Regions from separate parts of the Homo sapiens genome. Here all the other regions are linked to region 1. The links are contacts of gene promoters, found by promoter capture Hi-C in human tissues and cell types (Jung and others, 2019). All regions are on one chromosome and are shown on one strand. The core of a region is centred on a gene start or on the middle of the fragment in contact, and the rest is flanking DNA. Distances in the headings are between cores, read along the strand shown. Region 1 holds the start of PDXK (pyridoxal kinase). Region 2 overlaps TRAPPC10 (trafficking protein particle complex subunit 10). Region 3 holds the start of SIK1 (salt inducible kinase 1). Region 4 has its middle 4.2 kb from the start of TRAPPC10. Region 5 has its middle 23 kb from the start of TRAPPC10.

Evidence for each region. The method cuts DNA at HindIII sites, captures the fragments that hold promoters and counts their contacts. A contact is called where the count stands out against the background at its distance.
Region 2: a fragment that was not itself captured here is called in contact with the fragment with the promoter of PDXK in region 1 in 2 of the 25 tissues and cell types used here (dorsolateral prefrontal cortex and lymphoblastoid cells).
Region 3: the fragment with the promoter of SIK1 here is called in contact with the fragment with the promoter of PDXK in region 1 in 4 of the 25 tissues and cell types used here (IMR-90 fibroblasts, dorsolateral prefrontal cortex, lymphoblastoid cells and 1 more).
Region 4: a contact is called between a fragment that was not itself captured here and the fragment with the promoter of PDXK in region 1, in 3 of the 25 tissues and cell types used here (dorsolateral prefrontal cortex, lymphoblastoid cells and spleen).
Region 5: a contact is called between a fragment that was not itself captured here and the fragment with the promoter of PDXK in region 1, in 2 of the 25 tissues and cell types used here (dorsolateral prefrontal cortex and lymphoblastoid cells).

What each region holds. Positions count from the first base shown.
Region 1 is chr21:43,717,819-43,720,405 of GRCh38, reverse strand. It overlaps PDXK (pyridoxal kinase), which reads right to left and starts at 1,277. Exons shown (of 11, transcript NM_003681.5): 1 at 1,025-1,277. The coding sequence starts at 1,111. LOC124905032 (a long non-coding RNA gene) reads left to right here and starts at 1,858. Exons shown (of 2, transcript XR_007067896.1): 1 at 1,858-2,191. RefSeq lists silencers at 289-478, 636-945, 986-1,775 and enhancers at 1-584, 1,926-1,975. The HindIII fragment of the contact is 22,908 bases long and covers 1-2,587 here.
Region 2 is chr21:44,068,955-44,071,541 of GRCh38, reverse strand. The region is part of intron 7 of TRAPPC10 (trafficking protein particle complex subunit 10); the gene reads right to left. Among named protein-coding and RNA genes, the nearest start is that of PWP2, 37 kb to the left of the region's middle. The HindIII fragment of the contact is 4,440 bases long and covers 1-2,587 here.
Region 3 is chr21:43,425,881-43,428,467 of GRCh38, reverse strand. It overlaps SIK1 (salt inducible kinase 1), which reads left to right and starts at 1,337. Exons shown (of 14, transcript NM_173354.5): 1 at 1,337-1,458; 2 at 2,276-2,445. The coding sequence starts at 2,290. The HindIII fragment of the contact is 13,239 bases long and covers 1-2,587 here.
Region 4 is chr21:44,006,778-44,009,364 of GRCh38, reverse strand. No RefSeq gene overlaps it. Among named protein-coding and RNA genes, the nearest start is that of TRAPPC10, 4.2 kb to the left of the region's middle. The HindIII fragment of the contact is 5,883 bases long and covers 1-2,587 here.
Region 5 is chr21:43,987,732-43,990,318 of GRCh38, reverse strand. No RefSeq gene overlaps it. Among named protein-coding and RNA genes, the nearest start is that of TRAPPC10, 23 kb to the left of the region's middle. The HindIII fragment of the contact is 8,875 bases long and covers 1-2,587 here.

The sequences.
Region 1 (2,587 bases), core at 28-2,527:
CCTGTCCTCCTCCCAGGCCAGCCCGCACCGCAGGCCCCGCCGTGCCCAGGTGGCCCTTCTTTACATCCCGTGGGGCCCAGCACAGGGACCAGGCATACCTGCTCCCGTCCCCAGTGACCAGGCCGCAGGTGGGCAGCACAGGAGAGCACGACCCGGCAGGGCACCCCCAGCCCTCCTGCTGACTCGACAAGGCCAGGAAGTGCCCGTCGTCCTGGTTCTGCCTCGGCCCTGCGTGACACCCACGCCACTGCACCCAGGCCTCTCCTACCCCTCCACGGGCCACTTAGCTGCAACCAGGAGGCCGTGGGCCAACGCGTTTTAAAAGCTGGCTCCCTAAAGCCAATCCGCACAGTCCCGAACTGCTCTCTGGGGCTTCTCCTCGTCAGAGCAAACACCTGCAGGGATGCCGCTCTGCTAGAGGGTGCAGAGCAGCCCCTGCCCCACCCTCTTCCCTTCGGCCACCTCCTGGCGTGGTCAGGCCGAGGGGAATCCACCCTCGTGGGCACCGTGACCTCACTCGGCGTCTTCTTCCTGACTTCCCCACGCACAGGGGCCCAGGAGGTGAGCGCGCGAGCGTCTCGAGCTCCACGGCCGCTTCTGCGTTCCAGCGGGGCAAGGTCCCGGCTCGCGTGACTGCTCCGGGACTCCTCGGGGCTCTGCGACATTTCCTCGCCTCCGGGAGCCGCACCGCCCGCCCGCCCCCGCGGCAGTTGGCCCGGTCGGCGGGAAGGGGCGAGGACGAGCGGCTGCGCCATAGCTGGTGCACAGGGCTCCCTCCTACCCGCGTACCCCGACGCCGGACCCGTCCCACCCGCAGGGGCCCGCAGAGCGCTCAGCCCTCCGCTTCCGCCCCCGCAAGCCAAGCAGAGCGGGAGGCTCATCCCGCGCCTGCCTCCAGGGCGCCCGCGCCAGGCTCTGCCCGCAGCTCCCGAGCCTCCCTCGGGGAACTGAGGCTCGTCTCGGGCAGCCCCGCCAAGGTCACGGGCTCGGGTTACGTAAGCCCGGGCTGCGGGCGGATGCGTACCTGCAGCGGGAACGTGGCCGCCCGGTTGCCCACGTAGCCGCGGATGACGTGGCTCTGTATGGAGAGCACCCGGCACTCCTCCTCCATGCCGGGCCTGGCCGCGGCGGCGCGGGGCCGAGGCGGGGGCACGGTCTCCGCCGCTCGCTCGGGCTCCGGCTCGGCTCGGGCTCGGGCTCCGGCCCCGGCTCCCCTCGGCTGCGACTCTGGCTCTGGCGCGCGGCGGACCCGATCAGCGCAGACGCCTCCTTCTGACCTCAGCGGGCGGCTCCGAACCCGCGAGTTCCGCGCGGCGCCGGGGGCTGGCCGGGGGCGGACCGGGGCGGGGACAGCCACGCAGGCCCCGCCCCCGGGCTGGGAGGAAGCGAAACCGGACCCTGGCCGCGCGGCCGCGCCAGGTGGCCCCCGCCACTCTGCCGCCCGAAACGCTGGGTTTGCACTTTCATTCCGCCTGGAGAGGGCTCTGCAGCGCCGTTCATTCGTTCGTTCATTCATTCATTCAACCATTGTGCTCCGCCTCAGCCCTGCGCCCCGCGCCCCGCGCCCCGCGCCCCGCCGCACGCAGGGGAGACTCGGGGGCCCGGGCTCCACGCCCCTGACCTCCGGGCGCGACACTCTCGCAACGCGGATGGCCACGAGAGTGCGCGCGGGCGTGGGAATAGTGCGGAGGCGCGAAAGTGACCCCGGACCCCGGATACCCAAGGGAACCGCGCTCTCAACTGCCTGCAGGGCCCGGAGCCCGCATCCGATCCGCGTCCCTTCCCAGGGGCCGCGCGGGAGCTGACAGACACGGGGCCGGGGGGACCCAGTCAACTCCGCACCGGCCTGGGGCGGCGGGCTTCTCTGGGGGCGCCCCAGACCCTTGCGGACCCTGAGTGCCCACTCTGGTGGCGCGGCCTGCAGAGGCCCCCAGCCGATGGCCACATGCCCGGCCGTCCATCCACAGGTGCCTGGGTCTGGGCCGCGTGTCCGATCCCACCCCAACCAGGTCTTCCTGTGGAGGGCCTGCCTTCGAGGACGAACCTGACCCCCTGGGGGACCCCACAGCCTTCACTTCCCACCCCTACGCTCTCCACAGCTGACGCACTCCCTGCGGCTTCCCTGCACCACCCCGGGGAACGGAGGCCTTTGGGTTCCAGACTTGCAGACATGGTGATTTGGGGCCCTGGGGTCAGTATCACCAGACTAAAGTCTTGGTGACCTAACACAGCGCACCTAGGGCTCTGTAGCTTGGTGAGACCCAATGCCCGACCAGGCGGGTGCTGAGGACTGAGGGAGGAAGACATTACTTAGAGATCTAGGCTTTTAAAAGAAAGTACTTCATAATTAGTCATAATTGTCCATTAATAATAGCTAACATTGGCCGGGCGCGGTGGCTCACGCCTATAATCCCAGCACTTTGGGAGGCTGAGTTGAGCGGATCAAGAGGTCAGGAGTTCAAGACCAGTCTGGCCAACATAATGAAACCCCATCTCTACTAAAAATACAAAAATTTAGCTGGGTGTGGTGGTGTGCACCTGTAATCCCAGCTACTTGGGAGGCTGAGGCAGGAGAATTGCATGAACC
Region 2 (2,587 bases), core at 55-2,554, 350 kb before region 1:
GGGCCGAGCACTCTGCTTCTTCTCTATACTTTAGAGGGCCTGAAAGAGGTGGGCTCCACAGCAGCGAGACCTTCCACAGTAAGACATCTAAGACTTCCAGACATGTTAACGAAACAAATTTATTTAAAACCTAATTGCAGTGATACTTTTTCATTGCTTTGAAAAAACAAGTGGCAAAATGCATACAACAAGGTATGTGAAGGGCACAAACCCTAAATTTAGAGGTCGATGATTTTTACAAATGTAACCACCACCTAATCAAGAAATAAAATTATCCTAGAAGGTTCTCTCAAGTCCCTTTTCCCGGTCAAGATCCACCCCAAAGAGGCACCCGGCTCCTGACTTCGGCCACCATCAATTCCTTCTGGCTGATTTGTGAACTTCATATAATGAAATCACACAGCATGTCCTCCTTTGTGCATGGGGCTTCTTTAATTCCACACAGTATCTTTAAGATTCAACCTTGCTGAGTCTGTCGGCCTGTTCTTTTTCACTGCTGCTTATTAAACCTTTCTACAAGTTGGCCACAGTTTATTTATCCACTCCTATCAAGTGTCTGGGTTGTTTCCAGTGTTTGGCTACTATGGGTAAAGCTATTTGCAATGTTACCCCTGCCTCAACGGAGGGATGACTTCTCAGGGTCCGAAGACGCCCCCAGGCCCAAGTGCGCCAGGCTACTCACAGCAGAACACAGGCAGTGCCAGCACTCTTCTCCCACCAGCATCCCTGCAGCAGAGACGCAAGAGCTCGGGGGAAGGGGACAGAGAGTGCCAGAGCCACCCTGGCTTATTTTACCCATTAGAGTGCAGCTTGAGAATAAAAAACAAGAGTCTCACAAACTCTGGAAAAGAGCAATTGTTCTGCAGCCATGGCTTCATGGCTTTGAGTCGTCCAAACAAATGTCAGCCCCTTGCTCCTAAATGGTGGCCGACACAGAAAATGGGCACCTCAGCCAACAGCACGAAGGCCATGCCTCTATGGTGGCATCTGCCACCCAGCATGCCACAGCACCCAACACAACAAAGACCAAGCCTCCGCTCTGCCCTGAGAGCCTGAGACTGAATGGCAGAGCGTGCAGCTTGGTCACCTCACTCTGGAACCGGGTGGTGGCCTCACCGTCTCCAGAAAACTCACATTTCCCTAATGGGCCATCAGATACCTCTTGGCCATCTGGATATCATCTTTTGTGAATAACAGACTTCTTAAACAAATTCTTAATTTATATTAATTTTCCTTAAAGTCCCTCCTCCTCTCCTGATTGCTGTATTAGCAATGGCAAGTGCCATCTTGCCACTTCCAAGTATAAAATTAAAGGCATTCTTGTTCTTCTCTCTTTTGATACCCCTACCACTTGAGTGCAACCCACACACTGGAAGGTACATGAGTCCTAGGTGAACGCCTGCTATGCCTCCCGTGAAGGCAGCTCCCGCTGGAACTCCCTGCCAGTCACCAGCCCCTCCACCTGCCAGAGAGCTCACAGCAGACTGGTGTAGCTTCACCGTGAACTTCAGACACAAGGAATCAAAAAGTATGCCCTCTCTTATCGCTTCAACCCGGGAGGCAGAGGTTGCAGTGAGCCAAGATCACGCCACTGCACTCCAGCCTGGGAAACAGAGCAAGACTCCATCTCAGAAAAAAAAAAAAAGTATGCCTTCTCTTGTGTCTAACTTCTTTAGCTCAACTTCAGGTTGGTTAGAGTCATCCACTACGACCCATTCACGTTCATCACTGTACCCTAGCACACTACAGGGCCACGGTGCAACGTTGTCATCCCTTGGACAAGATGAACATTTGAGTTCTTCCCCGTTTGCAGCTCCAATGACTCACGGGTGCCACAGGTATCTCTGTGTACTTGCCTTCTGATGCATGTGTGTGTGCATGTATCTGTACACACCAGGGGTGGATGTGCTGGGTCACGGGGCATGTGTTGTAATGGCGATACCCATTAGATATCGCAAACAGCCTTCCAAAGTGGTCCCAGTGATGCACACTACCATCAGTGAATGAGCGCCAGCATCTCCACCCTCCCACTGATACCCGAGGAAAGCCTTTCCATCCTGGCCATTCTGGTGGTGTGTGCTGGTACTTCATTAATAATGGCTTCAGTTTGCATTTTGCTATGATTCATGAGACTGAGCCCCTTTTCATGTTTATCGGCCATTTGGATTTCCTCTCTTGCCTGTTTTTCTACTGGTTTGTCAGTCTTTCTGCATTGATGTATGTGAGTTCTTCACAGTACGCCCTGGAGTAAGGGCCCTTTCTTGTCTATATATACTGGTTGTACTCTTCCAAGCTGCGGAGGGCCTTTTCACTCCCTTCAGAGTACCTTTCAGTGAAGAGAAGCACTGATGTTTACGTAGTCTAATGCAGGACCCTCTTCCTTCACGGCTGGTGCATAACCATAAAGGTTTCATGTCCTATTTAAGGAATATTTGCCAACCTTAAGGTCCCAAAGACATTTTCCCAAGTTATCTTCAAGAGTTTTCTTATTTTATTTTTCATGTTTAGATCAAAACTCCACCTGGAATTAATTTTGTTTATGGGGTGAGATCAAGATTTGTTTTTATATATGGATATCCAGTGGACC
Region 3 (2,587 bases), core at 88-2,587, 290 kb after region 1:
ATAAACCTGGGACAAAGAAAAACACTCTGAACGATTAAGGAAAACTTTGGGACTCTTCATTTCCTTGAAAGCCTTTGAAAACCAACTGACTCCCAAACAACCCGTGTGTGTGTGTGTGTGTGTGTGTGTGTGTGTGTGTGTGTGGCGATTGGGAAATCTGTGGTCAGACCCTCGGGCGAATGAGGAGAAGCTCATCCTCGTTTCTCCGGGCCCTCCTCCCAGGCGTCCGTCCAGGCAGGAAAGCCTCCCGAGAAGGGTTCCAAGTTTTGTGCCAACTCCCCTGAATTCTCGTTCCCCCTTCTGTGAAGTAGTGTTATTTAACACAAGGAAAACTGACCCTAGGCTCGATCCAGAATCTAACTCCCAAATGGGTCCTCAGGCTTAAAAAATACCTTCGCCCACAGCCTCTGTCTCCCCTGAAGAAAACGTTTTCCGTTCGGATGAGGCATCGGCCACGGGCAAGCAAGTGGTCCCGCGCCCCCGTCCCCTACCCAGGCGGCCGGCCTGGCTCCGTCACCGCCCGCAGCGTCCGCCCGGGGCCCGCGCGGGAAGAGGGTCCCAGCCCCACATGCTGCGGGGGCAGCCCCGGGACGCGCAGACGCCAGCGCCGCTGAGGGCCGGGGCCGGGACCGGCCGCGCGGCGGGGGCTTCCAGAGCGGCCGGTCACGCTTCCTTAGGTTTCAAGTTTCTAACTTGCTGAACATTTCAGATTTTAACAGCAAAAGCGGCTGACGTCCCCGCGGGCAAGCGGCCTCTCGGGGTCTGCAGCGCCCCAGGGCATCCGCGCCGCCAGCCCCACGCGCGAGCCCGCGAGGCCCCCGGGCCCCCGCACGTCCCGAGGCTCTGAGTCTGGACGAACGCAGGCCGCGTGGAGGGGCCGGCGACCCCTGCCCGAGAGCCGTCCCCTCCTGGAGGGAGCGAGCACAAGGCGCCCGCGGGACCCGGCCCGAGTGCCCGAGCGTGGAGGGGCGGGCGCGCCCTCGGCGGTGGGGCCGCCCGCAGTGCCCCCAGCGCCCGGGAGGGGGCGCCCGGCGGAGCGCAGGCGGGCGGGCCTCGGGCGGCGGGCGCCCCTGACGTCACCGGCCCGCGGTCGCCAGGGCAACGGCCTCATCCCGCGCGCGTCAGAGCCGCCAGTCTCTTGGCAACCGCCCGATCTCCCGCTCTCCCTCCGCCCGGCGCTCGGCCGCGCGTCGCTCTGGCGTCAAAGCGACGTCAATGGGCGGCCCCCGCCCGGGCGGCGGGGGCGGGGCAGGGGGCGGGGACTACGGGGGGCGGGCCGGGGCGGGCCGGGGCGGGGCCGGGCGCCGCGTGCGGCGGAGCGCGGCGGCTCCGGGCTGACATGCGGCGCGGCCCCGGAGGCAGCAGCAGCGGCGGCGGCAGCCGGAGCAGTAGGCACCCGAGCAGCGCCAGCGGCCGAGCGGGCGGCTTCCTGGCCTGGGCGCTCCGGTGGCGGCGGAGGTGAGGCGGCGGCAGCGGCGGCAGCGGCGGCAGCGGCGGGCTCCGGGCGGGCGGAGGTGGCCGCCGTGGGGGCTCCGCGCGGGCGCCGGGCCGGGGCTCGGGGTTGCAGCCACCGCGCAGGGTCCCTGGCCTTGCGCGCGCGGGGTTCGCGGGCGGGGTTGGCGGCCTGGCCGCCCTCGGGCTCCCCTTTGTTGGGGGGCCGGGGTAGGAGTGAGTCCGCGGGGCTCAGGGGCTGGGGAGCCGGGGGTCAGGTTGGAGCCGACCGCGGGCGGAGATACCGGGTGTGGGGGGCGGGTCCGCGATCCCCGAGGTGCCTGGGATGTCGGGGGTGGGGACCGGACGGATCGCGGGCGGCGGGGGCAGGGTGTGGGAGCGGGGCAGGGGACGGTCCTGGGATCCGGATCGAGCCGACCTCGGGTGGCAGGGCCAGGTGTGGGAGCGGGTCCGCGCCCAGAGGTGCTAAAGGGGTCGAGGGTGGGGACGGAACCGACAGCGGGCGGCGGGAGGCGAGTGTGGAATCCCGGCTCAGGGGGTCCCGGGATCGGGACGGAACCGGACTCGGGCGGCAGGGGCCTCTATGAGAGCGGGTCCGTGCGCCCCGCGGGGCTCAAGAGGGTCGGGGGTCCGGGTGGAGCGGGCGGCGGGGGCGGGTCCACACCTCCCACGGGGCTGGAGGGGCCCGTGGATAGAGTGGGGGCGACAGGCGTGGGAGCAGGTCCCTGCGTCCCGTGGGGACTGGGGGCTCCGCGGGCACGGATGGAGCCGACCGCGGGCGGCGGGGGCGCTGGTGGGCTCTGAGCTCTGTGCGGCCCCGCAGGTGCGCGCGGAGCCATGGTTATCATGTCGGAGTTCAGCGCGGACCCCGCGGGCCAGGGTCAGGGCCAGCAGAAGCCCCTCCGGGTGGGTTTTTACGACATCGAGCGGACCCTGGGCAAAGGCAACTTCGCGGTGGTGAAGCTGGCGCGGCATCGAGTCACCAAAACGCAGGTGCGTGGGGGCGGTGGGACCCAGCCGGCGGGGCCTCCCCACTGGACCCGGGGCGACCCGACCTTTGGCGGGTGGACCCCATGCAGATTCACTGCTCCAGGCTTGATTGTCGTGGTGGGTAAATAGTAACCGTTTTTAGTTC
Region 4 (2,587 bases), core at 56-2,555, 290 kb before region 1:
CACCTGGGACATTGCTCAGTAAACAGAGCCTAAAGCTAAGCCTACACAGCCCAGCATGGTACGTCCAGTAATGGAACTACAAACTAGAACGAAAGTCAGGATTTTTCAGTGGAAGAGCACCCTGAGTCTCCCTCATTTGTTATTTATCAGTGTTGAATATACACTAAAAAAACAAAAATCACTAAACATACAAAGAAAGAGGAAAACGTAAGCCATAGTTAAGAAAAAAAAAAAGCAGTTAACAGAAACCAATCCCCCTACAATGAACCAGATTCTGTATTTACAAAGATTCTAAAGCAGCTCTACATATGTCCAAAGGAGGCTGGGCACGGTGGCTCACACCTGTAATCCCAGAAATTTGGGAGGCCGAGGTGGGCAGATCACTTGAGCCCAGGAGTTTGAGATCAGCCTGGCCAACATGGTGAAACCCCATCTCTACTAAAAACACAAAAATTAGCTGGGTGTGGTGGCGCACGCCTGTAGCCCCAGCTACTCGGAAAGCTGAAGCAGGAGAATCGCTTGAATCCGGGAGGTGGAGGTTACAGTGAGCCAAGATAGTGCCACTGCACTCCAGCCTGGGTGACAGAGCAAGACTCCATCTCAAAATAAATAAAAATAATATGTCCAAAGGATTAAATGAAAATATTGTCTTAATGAGTAAAGAATCAGAAATTCACAGCAGAATAACAAAGTATCTAAAAGAATCAAAAGAAAAGTCTAGAACTGAAAAGTACAATAACAGAAATGAAAATTTCACTGAATTGGATTAACAGATTGGAGAAAACAGGAGTTTGGGATCTTGAAGGCAGATGGATAGAAATTATTTAATCTGAAGAAGAGAAAAAAGTTGAAGAAAAGTGGAGAGAACCTCAGAGACCTATGGGACAGTATGAAATGGCCAAAAGCATGTGTGATCGGAGCTCCAGAAGGAGAGTATGAGTCTAGGAAGGAAACATTTTTGCAAAATGATGGCTCCAAATCCAAACACGTGGTGAAAAATACTGATTTACAGATCAAGAAATTCAGCAAAACCTGAAGAGAACACATACAAAGAAAATTACATGCAGGCATATCATACTCAAACTGGTGAAATAGATCAAGAGAAAAAAAATGTTTTGGTGGGGGGACAGGGTCTTGCTCTGTCGCCCAGGCTGGCGTGCAGGGGCACAGTCACGGCTCACTGTAGCCTCAGTCTTCTGGCTTCAAGCCATCCTCCCACTACAGCCTCCCAAGTAGCTGGGACCACAGGCACGTACCACCATGCCAGCTAATTTTTTAATTTTTTGTAGAGACGGCAGGGGGTCTTCCCCAGGCTGGCCTTGAACTCCTGACCTTAGGTGATCTGCCCACCTTGGCCTCCCAAAGTGCTGGGTTACAGGCATAAGCCACTGCACCCGGCCCTTCTCATAATTTCTTTAAGAGACCACTGACTGTTTAAAACAAACAATAGCTTGTGATACTTCTACAGTGTGTGTAGAAGTAAAAGGTAAGGACAGTGTGAAGGATGGATGGTGAGAGGTAACCCACTGATAAGCTCCTCACACTGTGAAGTGTGGAACTCCAGGTGTGAGGTGCAAGATGCAAAGGGTTATGTATGAAGAGGGAAGACTGAAGTGATACAATATTGACCCTACATTAAATTTGATATGTGAGGCATACGTAGTCTGTGCCCAGGAGAAAAAGCACTAGGGAAAAAATGAACAAAAGGGGTTTGGCTAAGAAGCCAATAAAGAAAAGAGAAATAATAGAAAATATCTGACTAATCCAAAAGAAGTCAGGGAAAGAACAACAGGAGAAAGACAGAAAGGACCAGTTATGTCAGGAAAAGACACTCAGCGCTCATTAGACATCAGGGAAATGCAAGTTAAAATGAAAATGAGATGCCACTTCACATGTACTCAAATCGATAAAATTTAAATTTATAATTAAAAACCCTGACGAGGCCAGGCACGGTGGCTCATGCCTGTAATCCCAGTGCTTTGGGAGGCTGAGGTGGGCCTCAGGAGTCAGGAGTCCGAGACCAGCCTGGCCAACATGGTAAAACCCCGTCTCTACTAAAAATACAAAAAATTAGCCAGGCGTGGTGGCGTGCACCTGTAATCCCAGCTACTTGGGAGGCTGAAGCAGGAGAATCGCTTGAACCCGGGAGGCGGAGGTTGCAGTGAGCCGAGATTGCACCACTGCGCTCCAGCCTGGGGAACAGAGCTAGACTCTGTCTCAAAAAACAAAAAATAAGTAAATAAAAAATAAAAACCCGACAATACCAAGTGTAGACTCCAAGCCGAGGAATATCTATGTCTTTGTACTGTTCTCACAGAGAACTGAGTCCAGCTGCTCTGAGAAGACAGACACTAGCCATTCCCCTTCCCGAAGACGTGGACACAGCGTTGTGCGGCTGGATGGGCTCCCACGTTAGGGAGTGTTCTTTCTGGAGGAAGGGAGGCAAAGGCAGAATCCCCTCCTCCAATCCCACCGGCTCTGGTCCAGGCAGCCTTTGGTGCGTGGGCAGTAAGTGGACTGCAAGCCTATTTTCCCTCTGAGCAGACCTATAAGAGATTTTTTTTTTCCACTTGGGAATTTAGAAAAT
Region 5 (2,587 bases), core at 42-2,541, 270 kb before region 1:
CTAGGCTCAAGTGATCCTCCCACCTCAGCCTCCCAAAGTGCTGGTATTACAGGCATGAGCCACAGTTTCTGGCCAATTAAAAAAAAAATTTTTTTTTTTTTTTTTAGAAATGGGGTCTTGCTATGTTGCCCAGACTGGTCTTGAACTCCTAGGCTCAAGTGATCCTCTGCCTTGGCCTCCCAAAGTGTGAGGCTTACAGGTGTGAACCACTGCACCCAGACCAAAAGGATTTAAGAAGTGACAGGAGGCCAGGCGCAGTGGCTCACGCCTGTAATCCCAGCACTTTGGGAGGCCGAGGTGGGTGGATCACGAGGTCAGGAGATTGAAACCATCCTGGCTAACATGGTGAAACCCCGTCTCTACTAAAAATACAAAAAATTAGCTGGGCATGGTGGCAGGCGCCTGTAGTCCCAGCTACTCGGGAGGCTGAGACAGGAGAATGGCTTGAACCCGGGAGGTGGAGCTTGCAGTGAGCCGAGATTGCGCCACTGTACTCCAGCCTGGGGGACAGAGCGAGACTCCGTCTCAAAAAAAAAAAAAAAAAAAAGAAAGAAGTGACAGGAAAAGATGAATGATGGGGAGGAGGAGACACTGGGGGCTCATGAAAGGTTCCAAGGGGAGAGGAAGCAAAGGCCACTACCACAGCCCCTCCCCTCCATGCTGGCACAGGCAGGGCCCAGGACAGATGCAGGTTTGGGATGCCCCCGGGTCTGCCGGGACAGTAGCCACTTGCTGAGCACCTGTCACGGCCTAAGCCCAGGAGGTACGCTGATCGTCCTGATGACCATCCCCACCTTACAGGCTAGAACACGGAAGGGCATGGAGGCTAAGAACCTTCTTGGCCTGGGCCACACAGGTCCTAAGGAGTGAGTTTTGGGTTTTCATCTAGAGGCCTCCAGACCCCCAAATCCAAGCCTCCCCCGTAACACACTGTCCCACGGAAACACACTTGTGCTCCCCATCTGTGATCGATGGAATGGGCCAATTCAGACAGTAGAGGCACGCTGGGATCTGGCTGGGTTCAAGCAGAGGCTGCGCCAGCAGCTGTGAAGTGAGGTCACACATGTGACCTTGCTGGCATTTCCCATCCCTGGATCCTAAGACTTCGGAGCGGCTCCACCTGGCAAGTGCTATGAGGCTGGGACCGACTGCAGGGCAGCAGCCGAAGCCATGCGGAGCCCTCCGTGGCCTTGTCCTCTGGTGCCTGCCCCTGTGACTGGGCCTGTCCCTCCCCCAGGGGTTCAGCGGCAGGGCATGCACCTGCTGGTGTACGTGCACGTGTGTGTCTGTGTGTGCATGTGTGTGCACGTGCACCCTCACAGGCCCCCTGGCCACACGTGGGACGATCAAGGCTCACGTCCAGGGTACCTGCGGTTGGACTTGTTCCTGCCCAGCCCAGGTGCAGGCCGCCTGCAGTGGAAGAGCTCACATCCAACAGCAAAGCAAAGCTCAGGCCACGTTGCTAGCTTGCTAAGACGTCACGGGACTGTTTGGTTTCTTCATCAAGTTCCTTAGCCCTGGGGGGCCACTTTCTTCAAGAAGGGCTTTTATCTCCATGAACCCTGCTGCTGTGTGAGCCACCTGGACAATTCCGGGTTCTCAGGCACTATGCTCAGAAGAGACGTGAAGAAGGCCAGCTGTGGTGGCTCACGCCTGTATTCCAAGCACTTGGGGAGGCCGAGGCAGGTGGATCACCTGAGGTCAGGAGTTCGAGACCAGCCTGACCAACATGGAGAAACCCTGTCTCTACCAAAAATACATAATTAGCTGGGCATGGTGGCAGGTGCCTGTAATCCCAGCTACTTGGGAGGCTGAAGCAGGAGAATCGCTTGAACCCGGGAAGCAGAGGTTGCGGTGATCCAAGATCACACCATTGTACTCCACAGCCTGGGTGACAGAGCGAAACTCCGTCTCAAAAACAAACAAACAAACAAGAAGAGACATGAAGAGGATGGTTTCCCAAGCCCACTTCCTAACGCTGCCCCTTATTCTTCAGGTGTGCCCGTGTGTGTGCTGGGACGTGTGTACATGTGTGCATGCGTATGGCTATGAAGGTCCCCACACACATGGTGTGTGCATGCATGCACATGTGTACACACTCACATGTCCCAGAATGTCAGGTGGCAGGGACTGACTCCTACGTACTGAGCTTCTGGGTGAAGCGGAGGTGGGATCTGGGCCAATAAAGGCAGGCAATGGGCCTCATGGTTAACCTTGGCCCCTCTCCTGGGTGAGCCAGATGCCTGTGATGCTGGGGGTGATGAAGTCCGAAGGGGTCTGCATGGCTGCCCCCCAGTGCCCGTGAGCACTTGTGTTCAAACAGGCGAAGTGGGGTTCAGGCAAGTCAGTCCCTCTTGTTAGAGGGCAAGGCCTGACCCACCCATGACATCCCCATACCAAGTGGCACCAGGCACTTCACTTTCATCTCCCGAGAAAACAACAGAACATCATGCAAAATTCTGGGTGCTCTGACTTCAGGATATATTTTAAAAAATAAATGGCATCTGGACGCAGGACTTTGAGCCAGGCCTTCCCAGCTTCTCAGGAGCTGGGCTAAGCACCAGCATGGACCTGTCACCCTCACTGA